Regions from separate parts of the Homo sapiens genome. Here region 2 is linked to region 1. The links are contacts of gene promoters, found by promoter capture Hi-C in blood cells and fetal thymus (Javierre and others, 2016). All regions are on one chromosome and are shown on one strand. The core of a region is centred on a gene start or on the middle of the fragment in contact, and the rest is flanking DNA. Distances in the headings are between cores, read along the strand shown. Region 1 holds the start of PHF13 (PHD finger protein 13). Region 2 overlaps ACOT7 (acyl-CoA thioesterase 7).

The links. The method cuts DNA at HindIII sites, captures the fragments that hold promoters and counts their contacts. A CHiCAGO score of 5 or more calls a contact.
Region 2: a fragment that was not itself captured here is called in contact with the fragment with the promoter of PHF13 in region 1 in 4 of 17 cell types (non-activated CD4 T cells, naive CD4 T cells, naive CD8 T cells and 1 more); the score reaches 6.1 in non-activated CD4 T cells.

Annotation. Positions count from the first base shown.
Region 1 is chr1:6,610,230-6,615,732 of GRCh38, forward strand. It overlaps PHF13 (PHD finger protein 13), which reads left to right and starts at 3,502. Exons shown (of 4, transcript NM_153812.3): 1 at 3,502-3,876. The coding sequence starts at 3,838. LOC107984913 (a long non-coding RNA gene) reads right to left here and starts at 3,158. Exons shown (of 2, transcript XR_001737882.3): 1 at 2,463-3,158. RefSeq lists silencers at 2,951-3,000, 3,051-3,830, 4,001-4,090, 4,231-4,690. The HindIII fragment of the contact is 6,383 bases long and covers 1-5,503 here.
Region 2 is chr1:6,354,202-6,359,704 of GRCh38, forward strand. The region is part of intron 1 of ACOT7 (acyl-CoA thioesterase 7); the gene reads right to left. Among named protein-coding and RNA genes, the nearest start is that of ACOT7, 37 kb to the right of the region's middle. RefSeq lists enhancers at 2,899-3,866, 4,567-4,746, 4,857-4,906, 4,927-5,156. The HindIII fragment of the contact is 6,351 bases long and covers 79-5,503 here.

The DNA of each region.
Region 1 (5,503 bases), core at 2,252-4,751:
GAAAGGATGCTAAACATTAATGTCTAAATTTCCTCCAAAGGGCTGTATTTCTAAGGGAAATGGAAAGACAAAAGAGGTCCTTTTTCTTGAAGTTTTCTCTTTCACTGGAGTAGCAGGAAGGTACAGGTCATATCTATGTACTAAAAATTACTGTTTACTAAAAACATATTCAATAAATATCTGGGTGCGGTGGCTTATGCCTGTAATCCCAGCACTTTGGGAGGCTGAGACAGGCAGATCACATGAGGCCAAGAGTTCAAGACCAGCCTGTCCAACATGGTGAAACCCCGTCTCTACTAAAAATACAAAAAATTAGCCGGGTGTTGTGGCGCATGCCTGTAATCCCAGCTCTCAGGAGGCTGAGGCAGGAGAATCGCTTGAACCCGGGAGATAGAGGTTGTGGTGAACCAGGATCACACCACTGTACTCCAGCAGGGGCAACAAGAGTGAAACTGTCTCAAAAAAGAAAGAAGAATAAACTCTCAAATTGGAAATGAAGGACCTACTCAGAATAATGGACTTGTTGACAAAACTGAGCTTAGAATTCACAGGCCTATATTGGACTACTTGGTTACATCAAGGAAGGAAAATCCCAAACATGGATTGAGTCAGGGGACAGATTTTCAGACTCAAGTGATAACTTTTGCTCAGAGTGGGTATTCACTCCAGGCAGGCAAGATAGCTCAGGACTGTAAACTCTACAATTTGGGAGGCCTGGGTGGGAGGATCCCTTGAGCCCAGGAGTTCCAGAACAGCCTTGGCAACATACGGAGACCCTGTCTTAAAAAAAAAAAAATTAGGCCTGGCATGGTGGCTCACGCCTGTTAATCCCAGCACTTTGGGGGAGGCTGAGGCGGGTGGCCATTCTTTCTTTTTTTGAGATGGAGTTTCGCTCTTGTTGCCCAGGCTGGAGTGCAATGGCGTGATCTCGGCTCACTGCAACCTCCACCTCCCTGACCCATGTCGGTCAGGCTGGTCTCGAACTCCTGACCTCAGGTGATCTGCCTGCCTCGGCCTCCCAAAGTGCTAGGATTACAGGTGTGAGCCACCGTGCCTGGCCCGATAATTTCTTAATATGTGTGTGTGTGGGAAAGGATTTAATGTTTATTATGTGACACATTTACCACAGGGGATAATAATGAGGTGTAAAAAAAAAAATCCCTCTTCTTTCACTTGGGTTTCACCTCTAATAATTATTCTTGGCCAGGCGCGGTGGCTCACGCCTGTAATCCCTGCACTTTGGGAGGCCTAGGTGTGCGGATCACGAGGTCAAGAGATCAAGACCATCTGGCCAACATGGTGAAACCCTGTCTGTACTAAAAATACAAAAACTAGCTGGGCGTGGTGGTGGGCGCTGGTAGTCCAGGCTACTTGGGAGGCTGAGGCAGGAGAATCGCTTGAACCCGGGAGGTGGAGGTTGCAGTGAGCTGAGATGGCGCCACTGTACTCCAGCCTGGCGACAGAGGGAGATTCTGTCTCCAAAAAAAAAAAGAATTATTCTTTTTGGTATTTACATTTTTAAACTACCAACGGGATCAACACCTTAGCAGTGTTTCTTATTCTGGCAAAACGAGTTGCTCCTTGTGAATATGACCTTGGGCAATACAGGCTAACTTCGGGGCATCTGCTTTGGTCACAGTAACCAGGTAACATTCCAAATCTGGCTAAATCATCTGTGCAATTGTATAAGAAGTTGTTAATCAAGTCTCGATGGGCCAAGTCCAATGTCTCTGTTTTAATCAGTAATTTCATGTTTTATCTTGTAAAGTACCTCAATTTATCACCTTTGGGAAGCCCTCCAATGGGCTACAATATTGCAGAAATAATAAAACAACAACAACAACAACAACAGTAAGCTACCATTTATTTAGCCAGGCACTACGCTAAAATTTAACAGCTTAGGAAACTGAGGCTCAGAGAAGTATTTTTTTTTTTTTTTTTGAGACAGAGTCTCGCTCTGTCGCCCAGGCTGGAGTGCAGTGGCACGATCTCGGCTCACTGCAAGCTCCGCCTCCCGGGTTCAAGCAATTCTCCCGCCTCAGCCTCCCGAGTAGCTGGGATTACAGGTGTCCGCCACCACGCCCATCTAATTTTTGTATTTTTAGTAAAGACGGGGTTTCACCATGTTGGTCAGGCTGGTTTCGAACTCCTGACCTCGTGATCCACCCGCCTCGGCCTCCCAAAGTGCTGGGAATACAGGCGCGAGCCACCGCGCCCGGCCGCTCAGAGAAGTATTTCTAAGATTAACACCATCTCCTAACTATTAAATATCTTCATCAGAATGATCATAACCCTTGAAATAGCAACAGCCAGCTTGATGGAGCATTCGGCGCCTGTCAAATATCTTACTAGTATCTCCAAGAGTTCGTTTTCTAATTTGAATTTTCAATTTTGTGTCACTCCCCTTTAACTTCTTCGAAGCTACCAAACAGGTTACTGAATCATCTGCGTTTTGTACTTACCTTTTTCCCCCACTTTCGAATATTAAAAATGTTCCCGTCAGACCGCCTTTTGGTCACCGCATAGGGGCAGTCCCCACCGTGTCCGGCCAGCCTTCCACACGTACAGCTGTCGGATACTCTGCGGTCCAGCGTTTACACACTGCCCATCCCAGTTAAACACCACTAAACAAGTACCAGTCGATGCCAGCGCCAAACACCGCGTCTCCGCCTCGCCCTGCGGGCCGGAGGATATTCAGGAGAGTGGGAAAACGGCCGGTCCCAAGGTTAGGCTTAGGCGGCAACAGAAAGCAAACTGAACGCACACCTCTTTAGAACACTGACAACGCTGGCCCGGTGTTTTTAATGCACGAACCCGGCCACCTCGAGTGAATCCCGCAGATGCCTAGAGAAGAGCCCGGTCCAGTCCCGGCCCCGCGGGCCCGGAGCAGGGAGCCGCACGAAGCCCGCAGCCGCGAAAACAACTTCGCTGAGCCCGGCCTGGAGCGGGGGCCGGGCGGCGACTCCGCCCTCAGCGGGGAGCGGGGAGCGGGGAGCGATGCCCGGGGCGGCCGCGACGTCAGCGTCCCCGCCCCTGCCGCCCCTACTCCCGGCCAGGCCTCGGGGACCCCCGCCCCACAAAGGGGCGCGAACCCCAAGTAGGAGACGAGGAAGGGTAGGTGCCAGCCGCCGCCGCCCTTCGCAACCCGGGCCGTCAGCCCCGCCCCCACCGCCGCAGCGACTCCCGCCCCCGCGCCCGCCGAGACCAAGGCGCTACCGCTCACACTGCCCCTCCCCCCGCGGCCGAGCCGGCGCGGGCCCCCGCACCTCCCCCGCTCGCGCGGCCTCGAGTCCAGAAGACCCGCCTCCACACACCGGGGCCGCCGCCGCGGAGCCTCATGGGGGTTGGAGTCCCCAAGGTTTCCTTTGTGCGCAGTATTGGCGGGGCCTTGGACTACCACTCCCACAAGGCACCGCGCCCGCCTCCCGCGCCACGCCCCCTCGCCGCTGGCTTCCAGTCGCCACCCAGACTACATTTCCCGACAGGCCTCCCGGCTCTCCCGCCCTCCCTCCCGAGACACGAGCCGAACTGGGCGTCAGGTCGGGGAGCCGGTCGGGTTCCCGCTCACCGCCGCCGCCGCCGCCCCCTGCAGCCACTCTCCCGCCTCTACCGCCGCGGGAGCTGCATCGTCCACTCCGGTCGGCGGTGGAACCGCCAGTCCGGGGTCACAGAGCTTGAGAAGCGACGCGCTGAGCCCCCCATCACCTCCAGCCCGGGCGACCCCTCCCGGGTCCGCCCTCGCCCTGCGCAGCCGCCCGAGCCCCCAGCCCCGGGCGGCCCCGCTCCAGCATCCCAGCTCCTGCACTCTCGCAGCCGCCGCCGCCCCCCGCCCGGAACATGGACTCTGACTCTTGCGCCGCCGCCTTCCACCCGGAGGTGAGTGAAGCTGTGCGTCCGAATCGCCCCCGACCACCCCCTCCGCGATCCTGCCGTCCTCAGGCAGCCAGACCCCCGGTCGCCCGGAGCGCCGCCCTCCCCTTCCCCCGCTTTCCCCTCGTCGGCCCCCCCGGGAGCCCAACCCCCGCCCCCTGCTCGGGCCCGCGCTCGGTCCTCTCCGCCGGGCCTCGCCTCCGCGTCCCCTCCGCGGACCTCCGCGTCCTCCCCGCGCCCTTTCCCCAGGGCCGTTGCGCCTATTTCTCTCCCCCGGGCCGCCCCTCTCCGGCCTCGCGTCGACCTGGGACCTGTCGGCGCCCCCAGCCCCTCCCCGCCGGCCTGCTTACTCTTTCCCCGCCCCCGGGGACGCGGTCCGAGCCGCCGCCCGCCCCTGGCTCCGGTTGCTCTCGAGGAGTTTTAGGCCCCCCTCGGACCGGGGTCGGCTCCCGAGGCCCCCGGCTGCTCCCCCGATCCCCCGGGCCCGGTGGCCCGCGCCCCGCCCCCTGACTCCGCGCGGGGCCCAGTCGGCCCCCGCCCCCTACGGCTCTCGGGGGCCGCGTCCTCCGGGGGCCCCACCCGCTCTGGGGACCCGAGTCCTGCCCCCACCCACCGCCCCCCGGCGCGCTGGCCTCTCTCTTCGGGCCCCCGCCCCCCGCCCGCGGGCTTTGCTGGCTCCGCCCCGGCTCACTCCCCCTCCTTCCGGGGATCGGCCCTCGGGGCTCCCGGCCTCCCCCCCGCGCGGTCCCCTCCCCCCAGCCGAGGCTCGTTGGGGTCGGGGGTGCGGGTCCGGCGACCGCGGGCGGGTGGGGGAGGGGAGGCGGCGCCGGAGCCCGCCGGTCTCGCTGCCGCCCCCGGGGGTTCGCAGGGCCTCCCCAGGCCTGGGACCCCGGAATCCTGCCTGGCGCACCCCCCTCACACATACTCGCGGGATGGGCCCCGCACCTTCGGGGGCCGAGTGTCGCGGGGGGCGGCTGCCGCGGGAGGGCGGGTGGGGGCCGCTCCGCCATCTGCTTTCCGAGGAGGCGGCCGGGGGGGCGGGCGGCGTGGGCCGTGTGGGGGCGGCGTGGAACCCCCAGTCCCCGCGCCGGTGCCTCCCGCGCGCCCCCGGCCCGAGGCCGTCGCCGCCCTCCACTTGGCATTCGGGTTTTTGACCCACTTCTGCTGGTTCCCCGCCGAAAGAAAAGTTCTTCGCGGGAGTTGGAGGCCCGGGTGGCGGCCCGCGGTTCCCGTGGCTGGGCAGGCTCGCCAGTGCGGGGAGCGCGGTCAACGCGGGCCTTCGCCTCCGCTCCGTGGGCGGCCCTGGGGTCCAAGGGGGTGGGAGAGGAGAAGGTTTGCTTGAACCAGGTTGAGAAAATAATTTTCTAAGGGCACCGACTTTCTCGAAAGAAAACCCGCGGGCCGCACGCCTGCTCCTCGCGGCGGGAGGGGCGGCCCGAGACCCCTGCCCCCCATTTCCCCACCGGCTCTCCCCCAGCAGAGTGGCGGCCGGGTAACAGCACCTCGGGAAGGATGGGGGTGGGTCGGACAAGGCACTGAAAGGAACCTCAGGGAACGTGCCGGGCGAATAAACAGCAATACGGCACACTTGTTTTGCTTAGGAGCAAATAAGAGCTCCATCTCTCCGTGCTTC
Region 2 (5,503 bases), core at 2,004-4,503, 260 kb before region 1:
AGGGCTCTGAGGAAGCTGAGCACACATGGGTCAAGGAGCCACTCCCAGAAGGGCGCCACCCCACCTAATCTCTGGGAAAGCTTCCCAGAGGAAGTGACACCTTGGCCAAGTCCTGAAGGGTGAGCCAGGAGCAGAGGTCCGAGAAGGCTACGAGGAGAGGGAATGTTCGGGGCCCAAGGCCAGGAGTGCCCAGCGAGCTCCAGAAACAGAAAGCAACCCCACAAAGCTGGCGCATGGCCCAAAAGGGGGTGAAGAAGCGATGTCCTGAGACAGGGACGCAGCTGTCATGCAGGGCCTCAGGGCTGAGACAAAGTCTGGATCCATCCTGAAAGGAGGGGAGGCTGGGGAGGCTGAAGTCCAGGAACCACACAATCAGACACTGTTTGGGGAGGTCACCTCCCATGGCCTCTGCACTGGCCTCTCACTCCCCATGGCCTCTGCACTGGCCTCTCACCCCCCGTGGCCGCTGCACTGGCCTCTAGCCCCCCCATGGCCTCTACACTGGCCTCTAGCCCCCCCATGGCCTCTACACTGGCCTCTAGCCCCCCCATGGCCTCTACACTGGCCTCTAGCCCCCCCATGGCCTCTACACTGGCCTCTAGCCCTCCCATGGCCTCTACACTGGCCTCTTGTTCCCCCCATGGCCTCTGCACTGCCCCTCACCCCCCATGGCCTCTGCACTTGCCTCTTGCCTTGGCTGAGATCCTAACTGGCCCCGACTGCACAGCCCCAGGACCAAGTCACTCCCTTATCCATACCTTCCAGGGCCTTTCCCATCTACAGAATAAAGACTCAATCTCCTAGTAAGGCATCTGGAGCTCTCAGGGATTGGGAACTTTTCCGCCTCAACTCTCACTGCCCTGCGGGGCTCCGACCTGCACCTGCCAGAGCACTGCTGCTTAGCAGGCACGCCTGGCCCTTCCCACCGTTCTACCTGTCCCAGCAACGCCTGACCCACCCTTTGTGAAGGACAGGGAACCATTCACAAATAGGGGAGTGTAAGCGAATACCCACTCACAGAGGGCACCCGGCACCACCCACCCAAACCCCAGATGCACAGGGACACCCTGACCCAGGATTCCACTCGCAGAAATTTACCCCACAGCTGTTTCCACACACGGTTAAACGAAGCACTGCAAGGGTACTCACTGCACAGCCGTGTATAACGCAGGACATGGGCCAGCGCCGAGATGTCCACATAAGGACATAAAAGCAACAGCCACACATTGGAATATTGCTCAGCCTTGCACGAGGAGGAGGAACCTTCTCAGAGACCAGCTGTCAGGTGAAAAACAGCAAGGCACAGAGCCATGGGAGCAAGGTGACCACCTGGGGCGCAGGGACGACCATTCCAGGAAGGAGGTGTGACAAACCAGAGGCCTCCATGGCCCCCAGAGGAAGAAACTAGCTACTGGGCAGGGACCTCGGTGAGATGCCTGTGTCTTTTGGATGCCTTTAAACCATCTCAACCCTTTCAAATTAATAAGTGTTCTTTGAAAACGCTTCAAGGCACAGCTCAAAACTCAGATCTCATCACACCAGAGGCCGGCCAGCACTCATCCCAAGAGCGCCTACAGCAGCGGCCCTGGGGTCCAGCCCACATCCTCGCAGGACAGCCCGAGCCTGTTCCGCAGCGGGAGTGAGGCGCCTGGAACAATTGAGGGGAGCCTGGCAGGGAGGGGAGCCGCTCCTGCCCCCTGGCCTCACCTTGAGGGCTGGCCATGCCTCCTGTGCCCTGGGGTCCTCTCAAGGTGGAGTCCCACCTAAGCCACATGGAGCCTGAGTACTGGGTTGAATTGTGTCCCCCAAAAGATGTGTTTGAGAACGAACCCCCAGAAACTATGAATGTCACCTTACTTGAAAAGAGTTCTTTGCATCCAGATACAATCAAGATGAGGTCGCCGTGCCTTAGGAAGGGCCCTAACCCAATGACTGGTGTCCTTATAGGAACAGGGAAGTCTCGACATGAGACACAGGAGGTCCAGGTGAAGATGAAGGCAGAGACGGGAGCAGCCTCCCGTCAAACCTTCGGGAGCATGGCCCTGCCCACCGCTGGTCTCCAGCCTGAGGAAACTGCTTCCGGTTGTCACCTGCCACCTGGTTTGTGGCCATGCCCGGAGGTCTCTGATGCTCCCAAAGAAAGCAGCACTGAGTGGCACAGGGGAGCCCCGAGGCAGCAGCGGCAGCACCCTCAGCACCCTCAGCCCTGCCCAGCACCCTCAGCCCAGCTCAGCACCCTCAGCCCCGCTCAGCACCCTCAGCCCAGCTCAGCACCTGCCACCCACACCTGGCCAGCCCTGGACAGGCCCCTGTGCGGTGACCTTGGCAGCAGCCCTGCAGGGCACTGAACCCTGCCTGCCCCTTCCACAGCCCAGCACACGACCAGCTGGGAGTGTCACCAGTGTCTCTGACTCTGACACAAAAATGTCAGTGCTGGCCAAGCGCAGTGGCTCACACCTGTAATCCCAGCACTTTGGGAGGCCGAGGCGGGCGGATCATGAGGTCAGGAGTTTGAGACCAGGCTGGCCAACATGGTGAAACCCCGTCTCTATTAAAAATAGAAAAAAAATAGCTGGGCGTGGTGGCAGGCTCCTATAATCCCAGCTACTTGGGAGGCTGAGGCAGGAGAATTGTTTGAACCCAGGAGGCGGAGGTTGCAGTGAGCCAAGATCATGCCATTGCACTCCAGCCTGGGCCACAGGGTGAGACTGTGTCTCAAAAAAAAAAAAAAGGACGACGACGACTACACTTTTGTGGCTGGACGCAGTGGCTCACGCCTGTAATCCCAGCACTTTAGGAGCTGAGGCAGGTGGATCACCTGAGGTCAGGAGTTTGAGACCAACCTGACCAACATGGAGAAACCCTGTCTCTACTAAAAATACAAAATTAGCCAACCATGGTGGCACATGCCTGTAATCCCAGCTACCTGGGAGGCTGAGGCAGGAGAATCGCTTAAACCCAAGAAGCGAAGTTTGTGGTGAGCCAAGATCGCGCCATTGCACTCCAGCCTGGGCAACAAGAGCGAAACTCCGCCTCAAAAAAAAAAAAAGTCAGTGCTAAAATGAAAACATTACTACGTGAAACCCAGGGTAACCAGGGGTAGGTGAGCCTTGCTTCCTTTACTCCATGGTGGAAGCTAAAGTGCCCACCTGAAGGTGCACAGCCAGGTAAGGGTCTGGGGTATAGGCAGGTCAGGCCCACACGGGGCCTGCAGGGCAGGCGGCTCATTACTGCCCCCTTCTGACAAAGGCCTCAAACCAGAGGTCAAGCACCAGGTGCGTGTGCTCCACCCTCACCTCAGCTGGAAAGCTGGGTGGGACAGAGGTGTCTGGGCAGACTGTCCCCAGTCATAGGGCTGCAGATGCCACTCATGGCTGGGGGCCACCACCTGGGGCCTGCAGACACTCGGAGCTTCCTTCAGGAGCTCAGCAGAGGCTGCCTTGGCCAGGAGTAGACAAGGGACAGGGGTTGCCCTTCCCGGAAGGAAAGGAGAAGCGGGTCTCCTTATGGCATGGGGGGCGGGGGCCTCACACCAGGCAGCCTTGAGGGACAAAACAGGCACGTGGATGGGTGTGGGGCCTCAAAGTCCAGGCACAAGCACACATAAATGCCTCCTCTTTCCATGGGGGACTCTGCCAAACAGAAGCTCAAGCAGCCCTGCTTCTCCTCTTTTTTTTTTTTTTGAGAGGGAGTCTCGCTCTGTCACCCAGGCTGGAATGCAGTGGCGTGATCTTGGCTCTCTGCAACCTCCACCTCCCGGGTTCAAGTGATTCTCCTACCTCAGCCTCCCAAGTAGCTGGGATTACAGGTGCGTGCCACCATGCCTGGCTAATTTTTGTATTTTTTAGTAGAGACGGGGGTTTCACCATGTTGGCCAGGCTGGTCTCAAACTCCTGACCTCAGTTGATCCACCTGCCTCGGCCTCCCAAAGTGCTGAGATTACAGGCGTGAGTCACAGAGTCTGGCCCCTGCTTCTCCTCTTTGACTTGCTGCCTAAGGCAGTTCCGGCGAAGTCCCTTCAACCCACAGACACGCCACTGCATCTCCAGAAGAGGGAAGGGTGGGAGGAAGGGCTGTGCCAAGGAAAGTTCCAGCAGCACTTGCAGGCCCCCAAGCAGGACGGGGGAAGAGGCCAACAATGGCCCTGAGCTCCCAGCCTCCATTTTGGCCAGGGGCAGGGGACTGACCCAGGAGGCTCCTTGTGCAGCCCACAGACCCCCCCTCCACCGCAGGTAGGAAGCTCAGCAGCGCTGGGAAACCGCAGTGAACCCAGCCCAGCTGAAGGGAGCAGAGGGAAGCCACAGGAGCAAGGCTGGAAAGAAAACCAGGTGCCTTCCTCCCTGGGGACTAGAGCAGGCAGGGGAGTGCCCTGGTCCGTCAGGGGACCCCAGCTCACGCAGGCCTGCACTTCCTATCCCAGCTTCGGCTGACCACCTAATCTTGGGGGTCAGTAAGAGCCAGGCCAGGTGGGTGCCCTACTGCCCTTCCTGGCTGCATGACACCAGCCAGCCTGCTGGGCACAGGGGCCGAGTCCCCTCTACCCACCCTTCCCTTCCAAATGTCCCTAAACAATCCACCCACAGTGGCCCCTGCACGGCCTAGACATGCCCATGACTGGCAGTACCTGCTCAGCTGGAAAGCCATGGTGGCTAGGACATCCCAGGATCAGATGCAGAGAAAGGCGAGGGAGCAGGGAAGCATCACAGAGTCCTTGCCTGACCCAGGACTGTCCCAGCTCCCTGCCACACCGGGCTTGGTGGGGAGCACCCCCCACCCCCAGCTTCCTGAGCTGCCCAATCTGGCCAGGAAGAGGCTGCCTCGCCAATCCAGAGCGTCTACCAGAAACCGGTCGTCATGGAAACCTTGCTTTATAAATAATTACAGAAGAAGTAATTCTGTGAGCTCTTCTGGCTGCCATGCCAGGAGATCAGGAAGGCAGAGGGGCCGCTGCTGAGCGGCCTCAGGGAAGCGGCTATGAGGCTCTGCCTTCTCTGACAGGGCACAAGACCCCCTAGTCTTTCTCCAGGGTCTCAGCCAAAGCCAGGTCTGGCCCCACTGCCGCCTTCTAGAGCTCCCTGAAATGTAGACAGGGGAGGAAGGTCACAGGCCAGCAAGGACTCCAGCAGGTCCAAGCCTGCATCCTGCTGATGGAGCTGGCATCTAAAGCCTGTCCCAAGGGCCAGCTCCCTGGCTGAAGCAAAGTGGACAGGCGGTCCAGCCTCCCCTCTCCTCAGGCCACACCCCTGTCCTTCCCCACTCCCCCTCTTCCTTCCCCCAACCCCTGCTTCAGAGGATGCCATGCCTGTCTTGGGGCTCAGCAACTCCACTACCCTTCCTCCACTCCCGCGGGCTCTTAGGCTGCCGGCTGCCACCTGTGGGCCCTGTGCCCCCCAACCCGTACTCTCTTCACTCCGCCTCCCCTTCTACTGGGTGTCAGGAAGAAAGAAAGAGGCCAAACAATCACAGCGGCCAGGGTGCAGGCTACAGGAGGCCCAGTGCAGGA